Linked DNA regions of Homo sapiens: all the other regions are linked to region 1. The links are contacts of gene promoters, found by promoter capture Hi-C in human tissues and cell types (Jung and others, 2019). All regions are on one chromosome and are shown on one strand. Each heading gives the region's core, a stretch centred on a gene start or on the middle of the fragment in contact. The rest is flanking DNA. Distances are from core to core; before and after follow the strand shown. Region 1 holds the start of GUCA1B (guanylate cyclase activator 1B). Region 2 overlaps BICRAL (BICRA like chromatin remodeling complex associated protein). Region 3 overlaps BICRAL (BICRA like chromatin remodeling complex associated protein).

The links. Contacts are between HindIII fragments. The study calls those that stand out against the background at their distance.
Region 2: a fragment that was not itself captured here is called in contact with the fragment with the promoter of GUCA1B in region 1 in 1 of the 25 tissues and cell types used here (bladder).
Region 3: a contact is called between a fragment that was not itself captured here and the fragment with the promoter of GUCA1B in region 1, in 1 of the 25 tissues and cell types used here (spleen).

The regions. Positions count from the first base shown.
Region 1 is chr6:42,193,125-42,196,792 of GRCh38, forward strand. GUCA1B (guanylate cyclase activator 1B) reads right to left here and starts at 1,832. Exons shown (of 4, transcript NM_002098.6): 1 at 1,490-1,832. The coding sequence starts at 1,696. The HindIII fragment of the contact is 9,949 bases long and covers 1-3,668 here.
Region 2 is chr6:42,865,031-42,868,698 of GRCh38, forward strand. BICRAL (BICRA like chromatin remodeling complex associated protein) reads left to right here. Exons shown (of 13, transcript NM_001393499.1): 13 at 1-3,526. The coding sequence ends at 416. Among named protein-coding and RNA genes, the nearest start is that of RPL7L1, 13 kb to the right of the region's middle. The HindIII fragment of the contact is 8,715 bases long and covers 1-3,668 here.
Region 3 is chr6:42,811,507-42,815,174 of GRCh38, forward strand. The region is part of intron 2 of BICRAL (BICRA like chromatin remodeling complex associated protein); the gene reads left to right. Among named protein-coding and RNA genes, the nearest start is that of BICRAL, 31 kb to the left of the region's middle. The HindIII fragment of the contact is 4,753 bases long and covers 1-3,668 here.

The DNA.
Region 1 (3,668 bases), core at 582-3,081:
AACTCTTCTGTAAATTTAGAATCATAGTAAAATTAAAAAGTTATTCAAAAAGGAAAAAACATTGATGAACATCATATGCCGATTTATAAGAAGAGATGAGGTATAAGGAGTACAACTATATGCCTAGGGGCTTAATCAGCCCTTTGGATCTTGAATCATGATCGTATTGATTTTTAGATGAATCTGGGGAAGATTGATGGACTTAAATGAGTCTTATTATTTATGACCTGATATATTTGTTTACTTTTCTTACATTTTAAAAAAACATCAATTATTTTAAAAAGTCATCTTCTCTCTTTAAAAAACCTGCCTTCTAGGCAGGAGCACTTAAGACCTTGGGCAAATCGATTCATTCCCTTTTGCCCAGCTTTCTCATCATTTAATTTGGAATAACAAAAGTCTGCCCCTCCCACCCAGGGTTGCTGCTGATTCAGAGGAGACCTAAGAGAGGCGGAGCGCTGAGAAGTCCGAAACTGGCTCTGTGCCCTGTGGGGTGGTCGATGGGGTTCATCTCTAAGGAGGTTCTGTTGAATTGAAGGTGCTGACCTCACCCTCCTGTCCCGGGACAGGCACTGTGGGGACGTGCACTGACTGGTACCAGCGACAGGATGAGACCTGAAGTGGCATTCCCAGTGATTCAGCTTAGAAAGCTAAGTTCTCCACGCACTGAGGAATGGAGAACTGACACTTTCTTCAGATTAAATTGGTATTTGAGGCAAATACCAGGGCATTTGAGGTATTTGAGGTATTTGAGGATTGCCAGGGCACTGAACTGGATAACCTTAAATAATCAAGGGGTTTTTAACTGAATTGAAATTTAAAATTCAATCCCCTGGTGCATTTACAAGATGTGTTATCTTCTTAGCTGCTAGTGACATTGTGGGCTTAGAGAAACTCTAGTCTGAATGATTTAATGAAACCTTCCAGGACTTGAAGAGCTGAAAGGGGCTTTTGCAGTCATTCGCCCAGTCTCCCAATACATGCAGGAGCCTCTTCCAGCATTCTTGACAGGGAGGATCTGACCAGTCTCAGAAGAACCCCAACAAGAGGGAGCTCATAGCCCATGCTAAGATACCTTGTCTCATTTAGAACATCTCTTTTGCTCCTAGTGTTTAGAGTGACAGGGGCTCTGGCAGATGCGAAAACCCGGTCATTGGGCTGCAGAGTCTTGGTCAAAAATACACAAAGAGAGGACCTGGACTGTCTGCCAGTCGCCCTTCAGCTCTCAAGAAGAGGACACAGGGAGCATCAGCCGACAGCTAAGAGATGGAGGGAGGGAAGGAGAGACAGAGAAGATGGAAAGGGACAAAAGGAAGAGAAGAGACAGAAGGGTTTGGTGAGTGAGACAGAAAAGGTAAAGAGAGACGGAGTGGAAAGAAGAGCAGAGAAAGAGCCGAGGAGTGGGGAACTGGGAGCTCTCCCTGAGGACACTTGTGGAGGAAGGCGCCAGGTGGACTGGCCACTGGTCCTTCCCTTCAGGGTGCCTTACCCCATTCTTGTCGAAGGCTCGGAACATGCCCTCTACATACTGGGAGGCCTCCTCATCGTCTGTGACCTTGAAGAAGCGCTTAAACTCATGCATAAAGAGTGTGCCGCTGGGGCACTCCATCACAAACTTCTTGTACCACTCCTGGAGCTCCGCCACATCTATCTCGCCAGCTGCCTCCGCCTCCTCCCAGCTAAACTCCTGCCCCATGCTAGCCCTGAGGAGCATCAGGGAGCAAGGGTCTGTATCTCCTCCCTGGCTTCTGCTGATGGATCTCTCCAACTAGGGCCCTCTTCCTCCCTTTCCAGGAGGCCTGATCAGCCTCTCCATCATCTCCTGGGTGACTGAACATGATCAGTCGGTGCAGGGGGCAGGTGGCAAGGGAGGTGGGTCCAGGCCAGCTAAGCTGCCCTAAGACTATTAGAAGATTCCCCAGGTGGCCGGGTGCGGTGGCTCATGCCTGTAATCCCAGCACTTTGGGAGGCCGAGGTGGGTGGATCACAAGGTCAGGAGTTCGAGACCAGCCTGGCCAACATGGTGAAATCCTGTCTCTACTAAAAATACAAAAAATTAGCTGGGCATGGTGGTGGGTACCTGTAATCCCAGCTATTCAGGAGGCTGAGGCAGGAGAATCACTTGAACCTGGGAGATAGAGGTTGCAGTGAGCTGCGATCACACCACTGCACTCCAGCCTGGGGGACAGAGTGAGACTCTGTCTCAAAAAAAAAAAAAAAAAAAAAAAAAGAGATTCCCCAGGAAGTTCTGACCTCCAGCCTAAACTCCTCCAGCCTCACTCCTTCCCTTAGCCTTGTCAACAAAGCAACCAAGCTGGCCCTGGTAGACTCTGAAGAGGTAGAAGGGGAAGAAACTGAGAGGTAAGCAGAGAGATGCAGAGTGAAGAAAGAGTCGGGGTGCTAGGCTGGGATCCTCCCATCTCACTCACTCCCTATCTCTTTAGCTGGGCCTCACATTGCTTCAGGGAGGCCCATCTTGGAGACAGGAGACTCAAATCCAGAGAGGAAGTGAGATCAAGTCCTAGGCCATAAAACAGAATCTGCTGGTGATCTGGGACTCGCCCCTCAGACGGTCTAGTGAAAAGAGGCAGAATCTATGATGGGAAGGGCTCTAGGTGAGCAACTCTCTTCCCAGGCTAACTCGGTCCCTGAAGCTCCTTTCCAGATTACACCTTTCATCTTGGGAGCTTTTCACTTTCTGATTTAAACTACAAATGCCTCCCTCCAACCCTTCACACAAGACCTAGGGGTAGTGCCTTTTTCACATTTCCTCCAAAATACTAACATGTGAGAAGGATCTGGGAGCATGGCCTAAAATATCTTTGAAGGCTCTTACTTTTACATTATAGGTCATGTAAAATTTGCTTTTGAACAATTACATATTCATGCTTATTTTAATGTAACATAAAAATGACACCTCCAAGAAATCAAAAGACCAGGGACACACATTTTTCTTTTTCTTTGCTTTTTTTTTTTAAATTTCTATTTTTTGAGACAGGGTCTCGCTCTGTCGCCCAGGCTGGAGTGCAGTGGTGTGATCTCGGCTCACTGCAACTTCCGCCTCCGGGTTCAAGTGATTCTCATGCCTCAGCCTCCCGAGCAGCTGGGATTACAGGTGCACACCACAACACCCAGCTATTTTTTCTTCTTTTTTTTTTTTTTATTATACTTTAAGTTCTAGGGTACATGTGCACAACATACAGGTTTGTTACATAGGTATACATGTGCCATGTTGGTTTGATGCACCCAGCAGCCAGCTAATTTTTGTATTTTTAGTAGAGATGGGGTTTCATCATGTTGGCCAGGCTGGTTTCAAACTCCTGACCTCAAGTGATCCACCCGCCTTGGTCTCCCAAAGTGCTGGGATTATAGGCATGAGCCACCACGCCCAGTGACACTCATTTTTCTAGAAGACTTCAGAGGCAGCAGTTCCAGTGAATCTATCCTTAACCTACCCATCCCTCACTGGGTGTTCAGCCTGAATTGTTTTGCACATCTCCAGGCCTGACCTCCTCTCTCACTGTTCTCTGCCTCCAGACGTCACTGAGCTCTGAAAGCTCTTTTAACTTTCTTGCTATTCCTGAAGGAGAAATGTGATTTCTTCTGTCATCCTTTCAAGTGGTGGTGGGTTTTTCTCCCCCACACACACCTCAAGGTCTAGATAACAG
Region 2 (3,668 bases), core at 763-3,262, 670 kb after region 1:
AAACCTCATCCAGATCGGATCATGGTACTGAGAGCAAACTGTCAAGCATCCTAGCAGATTCGCACTTGGAGATGACGTGTAACAATTCCTTCCAGGACAAAAGTCTGAGGAATTCTCCAAAGAATGAAGTTTTACACACAGACATCATGAAAGGGTCAGGCGAACCCCAGCCAGATCTCCAGCTGACAAAGAGCTTGGAAACCACATTTAAGAACATCTTGGAACTCAAAAAGGCGGGACGGCAGCCCCAGAGTGACCCCACGGTTAGCGGCTCTGTTGAGTTAGATTTCCCCAACTTTTCTCCTATGGCTTCACAGGAAAACTGCCTGGAAAAGTTCATCCCGGACCACAGTGAAGGTGTTGTAGAAACTGACTCCATTTTAGAAGCAGCTGTAAATAGTATCCTAGAGTGTTAATAGCAGCAGTCCTCCCCCTACCCCGCCCCGAGACCCCACCCCGAGACCCCACCCCGGACCAGTTACATTCGTTCCTGGCAAAAGCAAATGGAAATGGTCTCCTGTCTCCAGCCTGCTTGATCTTTCATCACAGGTTATTCTTTCTAATCTCAATCCTGTTCTTTGTTTAAGAGCAATACTTGTCGTGATTACAGGGAGATCCTTTAGTAAAATTAATCCTTGGCAGAAAGCAGTCTGATAGGCCCCACTCATTTCAAGTGTTATGAAAGTGCTTATAGGCATTTTGTTTATTTGTTTTGTTTTTTAAAAACACTGTAACTCAATGAGACCACAGTATACTTGGCCCTTGGTAAAATTTTGACAATCATAAGTCATTTGAAAAGAACAGACTTACTAAAATCAAACGAGACGGATAGAAGCTACTTTTTAAAGAATATCCCACTGCATCTGCAAATTTAGTTTTGGGTTTTTTTATTATTATTATTTTGAGTTTTTTTGTGTGTGTTTTGTTGTTATTGTTGAGGGGAAGACCACATGGTTCTTCCCCCTCAGCCATCTTTGAGCAGTAAATTGCTGGCTGTGCTGCCAGGGACCCGCAGCCCTGGTGGAAAAGCCAGTAGCACATACGCAGGGCATTGCAGGGCTTCCCTATTGATGGTTCAAGTGCTTTTCTGATGCTTCCGGAGCAAAACCTCATGCTTTTAGGCATATCTATGTTGAATTTCACCTAGGGAATGTTCTGTTCTTAGTTACAGCAGCAAAATTTGAAATAATTTCACCAGGCTAAATAAAGGAAAATGGAAACCAGTTAAGAGGCACAGTGTACAGAGGAGGCCGGGATAGAGCCATGAGGGTTATAATATTAATATGTATATATGTAAAAGCATATATATGTTAACTATTGAGAAAAAACAAGTTTTGCATTTTATAATTGGATATAGTCAACATATAATGTATGTTTTTGTTTGTTGCTGGATTTTGTTTCATTTAACCTCTCTTTGCACCCTCTCCCACAACAAATACCAAGCATCAAAAGCACTTTCATTTGAAAATTATTATGTTGTAATTTTTCAGTTTAAACTTTAAGGAGACTCTGGCCTTGTTTATGCTTCTTGTCTGAGAACAGTAGTGACCCCTGGCAGCAATTCATTACCAAAACACAGACAAACCAAAGGTAACCAGCTAGCCCACCACTGAAAGGAAAGATCTGAGACATGGGATTCCCATTTGAGAGCCAAAGGATATGCCCTGTCATGGTTTCTGTTTGGCCTGTGTTCATATTAGTGAGCATGGCTTACTGCTTTATTTATTTTTATTTCTTGTCAGGGAGTATTCTCCGTTTTCCTTTCTCGTATACCTGCCCCAGGTTATCCCATTTCTGTTGTTACCTTTATTCTTAATGTCATTGTAACCATCACTTATCTCCTCTCATTGGGAAAGCTACATGATAGTATTTTTATGCACTCTTCTCCCACACATACACACACGTGCATGTATCTGAGCTGCTCGGATCCAGAGGTCATTTTTGTTACAGTGTGTGCACACTCACTCTCCTTCTTAGTGTGCATACTCTCTCATTTATTCTGTTTATCTCCCTGGCTCTGGAGGTGCAGCCACTGGTCTTCACTTTAATGTGTTGCCAGAATCTGCTTCTGGCTGTCGCCAACATGGGGATGACCCCCATTGTCATCATGTTGGGCATTTCTTTTCCAGATTGGCCTGTGATGGAAAGGAAGGCTTCTAATTAGAAAACACAGCAACAGAAGACCTATACCCCGGTGCCCCTGTGTCCCACTACACACAGAAAACCCTGTGAGATGGCCAGTCTTCATAATAGCAACGTACCTTCACCCCAGCCACATGCCCCAGCCAATACAAATTGGAAAATCTGGCCCATTTTAGGGTTACCATTTTTTCCTTATTTGTGCCAATGTCCAAGTTGCAGATTTCCCCTTTTTCCTGTATTGTAACATATTAGATAAGTTGGTGTCGCCAGTTGGTACTTTCTGTTTGGGTAGTCCTAGGGTAACACCCTGCCCTAAACTCCATGATTTCATAGGCTTTTCTTCCCTTGGGGCTCATGCTCCCCTAATTCCTAGCAAGATGATCCTTCCTAATCAAATTCTTCTCATTGCAGAACTTTATCCCTGGAAGCCTTCATGTGGGCTGCTAGTGAGTTACATTAATTACTGCAAATCAGTGGAATTCTCAAGAGACAAGATAAGCTTCATGTACATTTGTCACCTCTCTTTCTTCCCTATCCTGCCCTGCTGTCCCAATCCTAGCTTTTCTATATACCATCCTAAAGGGTTTTTAAGCCCTAACACTTGTCTAGCAAATGGAGAGCCTAATTTACCAAAATGAAACTTGTAAATTTTTGTGTCATTGTATGTAAGTTTACTTTTTATGGAGGAAGGATTCTAGATAATGACAAATGAAGATTATGACATGTATTTCACTCCTGTGATTAGGTTCTACGCACATGGGTCATAACTCGCATGTCGAGCCCCCTCTAGTGAAGGGTAGGAGAGCTCAGCCTCGGATGGCCAACATTCAGTTGTTCAGGTTCATTCGTCAAAGTTAAGTTTTAGAACTATTTGTACTCAGTAACAAAAATCATTTTCTTTTTTTTTTTTTTTTTCTGTTGTGGAAAAGCGTGAATTTGTTATTAAGCATTTGATTTTCTGTGTCCTTAAGTACTTCCTGAAGATGAAGCAAAATTTTAATCTGGCAATTATGAAAAAGAAATATTTTAGCTCTGAAGGATTTAGTAGATTCTGTTAGATTAGGGAGGCCTTACAGACTGACTTTACTTAAAGAGGACGCGTCACTCGCTGTCAGTGTGGTGTGGGCTTTATTTGCTTAAATACCTTCATTTGTATAGTACGTCTCACTTGAAATTGCTTTGTATACATTTTGTAAAAATATTTATAAAATGTTTTGTAAAAAAAAAAAAACTATAACAAATTGCAGTTTATTTTGTTATGTTGGATAAATACTGTTAAAAGAAACCAGTCAGTAACTATATTGTTAATCCATGGTTAGGAAATGTTTAGTTGGAGATTACAAATTGAAACAACCATTGCAATACAGCCAAAGATTTGGGAAAATGTGCAACTGTGATTGTCTTGATTTTGCAAATAGGAATGGCTACTTTTCCCAGAAGAAAAGGGTAAGTGTTCAATGGGAATTCTATTTTAATAGATTTACCAATACCAAAATCAATTTACCCCAGTCAGGGAAGGGATAGGA
Region 3 (3,668 bases), core at 766-3,265, 620 kb after region 1:
GCTACTCGGGAGGCTGAGGCAGGAGAATCACTTGAACCTGGGAGGCGGAGGTTGCAGTGAGCTGAGATTGCGCCACTGCACTCCAGCCTGCTGACAGAGCGAGACTCCATCTCAAAGAAAAAAAAAAAAAAAAGCCTACGTTCCCAGGGTACCCAGAGTACCAGAGAGAGAGAGCACTGCACTCCACTCTACTATCTGGAGATCTACAGAGTCTTTCTCAAGTTTTCAGCTGATAACTGATGTGTTTAAGAAAACTTCCTAAGTTCTGGGAAGAAACACTACTTGGAGCTCACATAGGGCAGAGAATAGTTTGTGTTCCCATCTGCAAGAGTGCAAAAACCCTTGTAATTCATGGGATATCAGATGAAGTACTCAGAAGGGTATTTATTGCCTCACTATAGGGCAAAATGAATCCTAAAGATTGACAAAGCTTAAAAGCAATCCTTAAAAGGATCAGACATTTTGTAAAGAAACTTTGTAAAGTAACTTAACTGTGTCCTAGACAAAGCTCAAAAATATCCAACACCTGATAATGTAAAATTAACAATGTCTGACATCCAATAAAAAAATGACCAGGCACGCAAATTTGGGACCAACCACAACAACAAAATCAATCAATAGAAAGAGATGCAGAAATTATACAAATGATAGAATTAATCATTTTTTTTGTTGGCCAGATGAGGTGGCTTATGCCTGTAATCCTAACACTTTGTGTGGCGGAGGTGGCGGATTGCTTGAGGCCAGGAGTATGAGACCAGCCTGGGCAACATGGTGAAACCCTGTATCTACAAAAAATACAAAAATTAGCTAGCCATGGAGCTCATGCCTGTAATCCCATTACTTTGGGAGGCTGAGGCAGGAGGATCACTTGAGACCAGGGGTTCAAGACCACCCTGGGCAACACAGTGAGACCCTGCCTCTTCAAAAAAAATTTGTTTAAGTTGTTACTATCTTATATAAGTTCAAGAAAATAGTGGAAAGATTAAACAAATAATGGCATGGAATCTCATCTTGGGCCAAGACAACAAAGCAAAAAAAAATTTTAAATAATAATGACATGGAGTATTTTAAAAAGACCCAAATTGAACTTCTGGAGATGAAAACTACAGTGTTTTAAAATAAAAGCGCACTGGATGGGATTAACAGAAGATTAGAGACTGCAGAAGAAAAGATTTATGAATCTGAAGATATATGAATAGAAGCTATCCTAAATGAAAGCCGGAGAGATTAAAATACTAAAAAAGGCCAGGCATGGTGGCTCACACCTGTAATCCCAGCACTTTAGGAGGCCAAGGCAAGAGGATCGCTTGAGCCCAGGAGTTCAGGACCAGCCTCCTGGACAACATAGTAAAACCCTGTCTCTACAGAAAATACAGAAATTAGCTGGGCATGATGGCAAGTGCCTGTGGTCCCAGCTACTCAAGAGGCTGAGGTGGGAGGATCACCTGAGCCCAGGAGGTCGAGGCTGCAATCCGCTGTGATCCTGCCACTGCACTGCTGCTTGGGCAGCAGAGCAAAACCCTGTCTCAAGAAAATTAGTAAATTAAATTAAAAAAATAAAAGACTGAAAGAAAATACAGCATCATTGAGCTGTGGGACACTTCAAATAGTCTAATGATGTAATTGTAGTCCCCAAAGAAGAGGGAGGGGCATAAAATATTTGAAAAAATTAATGACTGAAATTTTTCTAAATTGGAGGGAAACTATAAACCTGCAGATTCTAGAAGCTTAGTGAACCCTAACCACTGGAAGCATGAAGAGAACTACACCAAGGCTTTTCATAATCAGATTGCTTAAAACCAGTGGTAAAGAGAAAAATATTTAAAGTGTCCAGAGGAAAAAATGACACATTATGAAAAAAAGAAAGGTAAGAATGATGGCAGACTTTTCTTTGGAAATAATGCAAATGAGAAATAGTACATCAGTATCTTTAAAGAACTGAAAGGAAAAAAACTCATCAATCTTGAACAATATGCCCAGTGAAAATATATTTCAAAAACGAAGGCAAGATAAACACTTTTTGTGGGGGTGGGGATAGAATCTCTGTCTGTCTCCCAGGCTGGAATGCAGTCACACAATCACGGCTCACTGCAGCCTCAACCTCCCCAGGCTCAGGTGGTCCTCCCACCTCAGCCTCCTGAGCAGCTGGGATTACAGGTGCGCACCACCATGCCCAGCTAATTTTTTTATTTTTTGTAGAGGTGGGGTTTTTCCATGTTGCGCAGGAGGGTCTCAAACTCCTGGATTCAAGCAATCCACCCACTTCAGCCTCCCAAAGTGCTAGGATTACAGGCGTGAGCCACCGTGCCCATCTCACACTCTTTAAAGATATATCAAAACTGAAAGAATTAATCAGCAAAGACCTGCACTACAAAAAATATTAAAGGATTCCTTTCAGGAGAAGGAAAATGATACCAGATGGAAATCTGGATTTACTTAAGAGAATGAAGAACACTAGAAGTAGTAAATATGTCAGTAAAAATAAAGTGACTGCAGTTCATTTTACCTTCAATAGGTCCGGGGGTAAAAATGTGATTTTGAAGACTGCAACTATTCCGTAGTTCATGTCTGCTTAAAGTCTCTCAATAATTTGCTAACCTCAGCACCTTTTAGAGGTAAATTTGTTTGTAAATTATTAGGAAGTTATGACTCATGTTATAGCAACTTACTACAAGTAAAGCAAATGTCAGTAGTTTTTGGTAAGGTATCTCGTATTGGCTCTTGGTGGGTTTTTTTTTTTTTTTTTGAGACACGGTCTCACTTTGTCACCCAGGCTGGAGTGCAGTGGCGTGATCTCAGCTGACTGTAGTCTCAACCCCCTGAGTTCAAGCCATCTTCACTAGGCTATATACATACACATATGTATATGTATATATATAAATTATATATATACACAACACACATGTATACATACATATATATACACATACATGTATGTATATGTATATATACGTATACATACATATACATGCATGTGTGTGTGTGTGTGTGTGTATATATATATATATATATATTTTTTTTTTTTTTTTTTTTTAGATGAAGTCTTGGTCTGTTACCCAGGTTGGAGTTCAGTGGCACGATCTTGGCTCACTGCAGCCTCTGCCTCCCAGGTTCAAGCGATTCTCCTTCCTGCCTTAGCCTCCCAAGTAGCTGGGATTACAGGCATGCGCCACCATGGTCGGCTAATTCTTGTATTTTTAGTAGAACAGGGTTTCACCATGTTGGCCAGGCTGGTCTCGAACTCCTGACCTCAGGTGATCCGCCTGCCTCAGCCACTAGGCTATTATTTTTGAAAGAAGCAAAAGAACAGATAAGCAGATAAAGGAGGAAACAAAAACATTTGTAATAGTGGCCACATACCAAATTTCAGTTTGCGCAGTCTTTGAAATCCTGTTCTATTACTTTTTTTTTTCTTTTTTTTTGAGACAGGGTCTCACTCTATCACCCAGGCTGGAGTGCAGTGGTGCAATCTCAGCTCATTGCAACTTCCACCTCCTGGTTCAAGAGATTCTCATGCCTCAGCCCCCATAGTAGCTGGGATTACAGGCACGCACCACCACGCCTGGCTCATTTTTTTTGTATTTTTAGCAGAGACAGAGTTTCACCATGTTGGCCAGGCTGTTTTATGACTCCTAAGGGTGAAGTTTGGTTTTCTTCCATTGCTACTG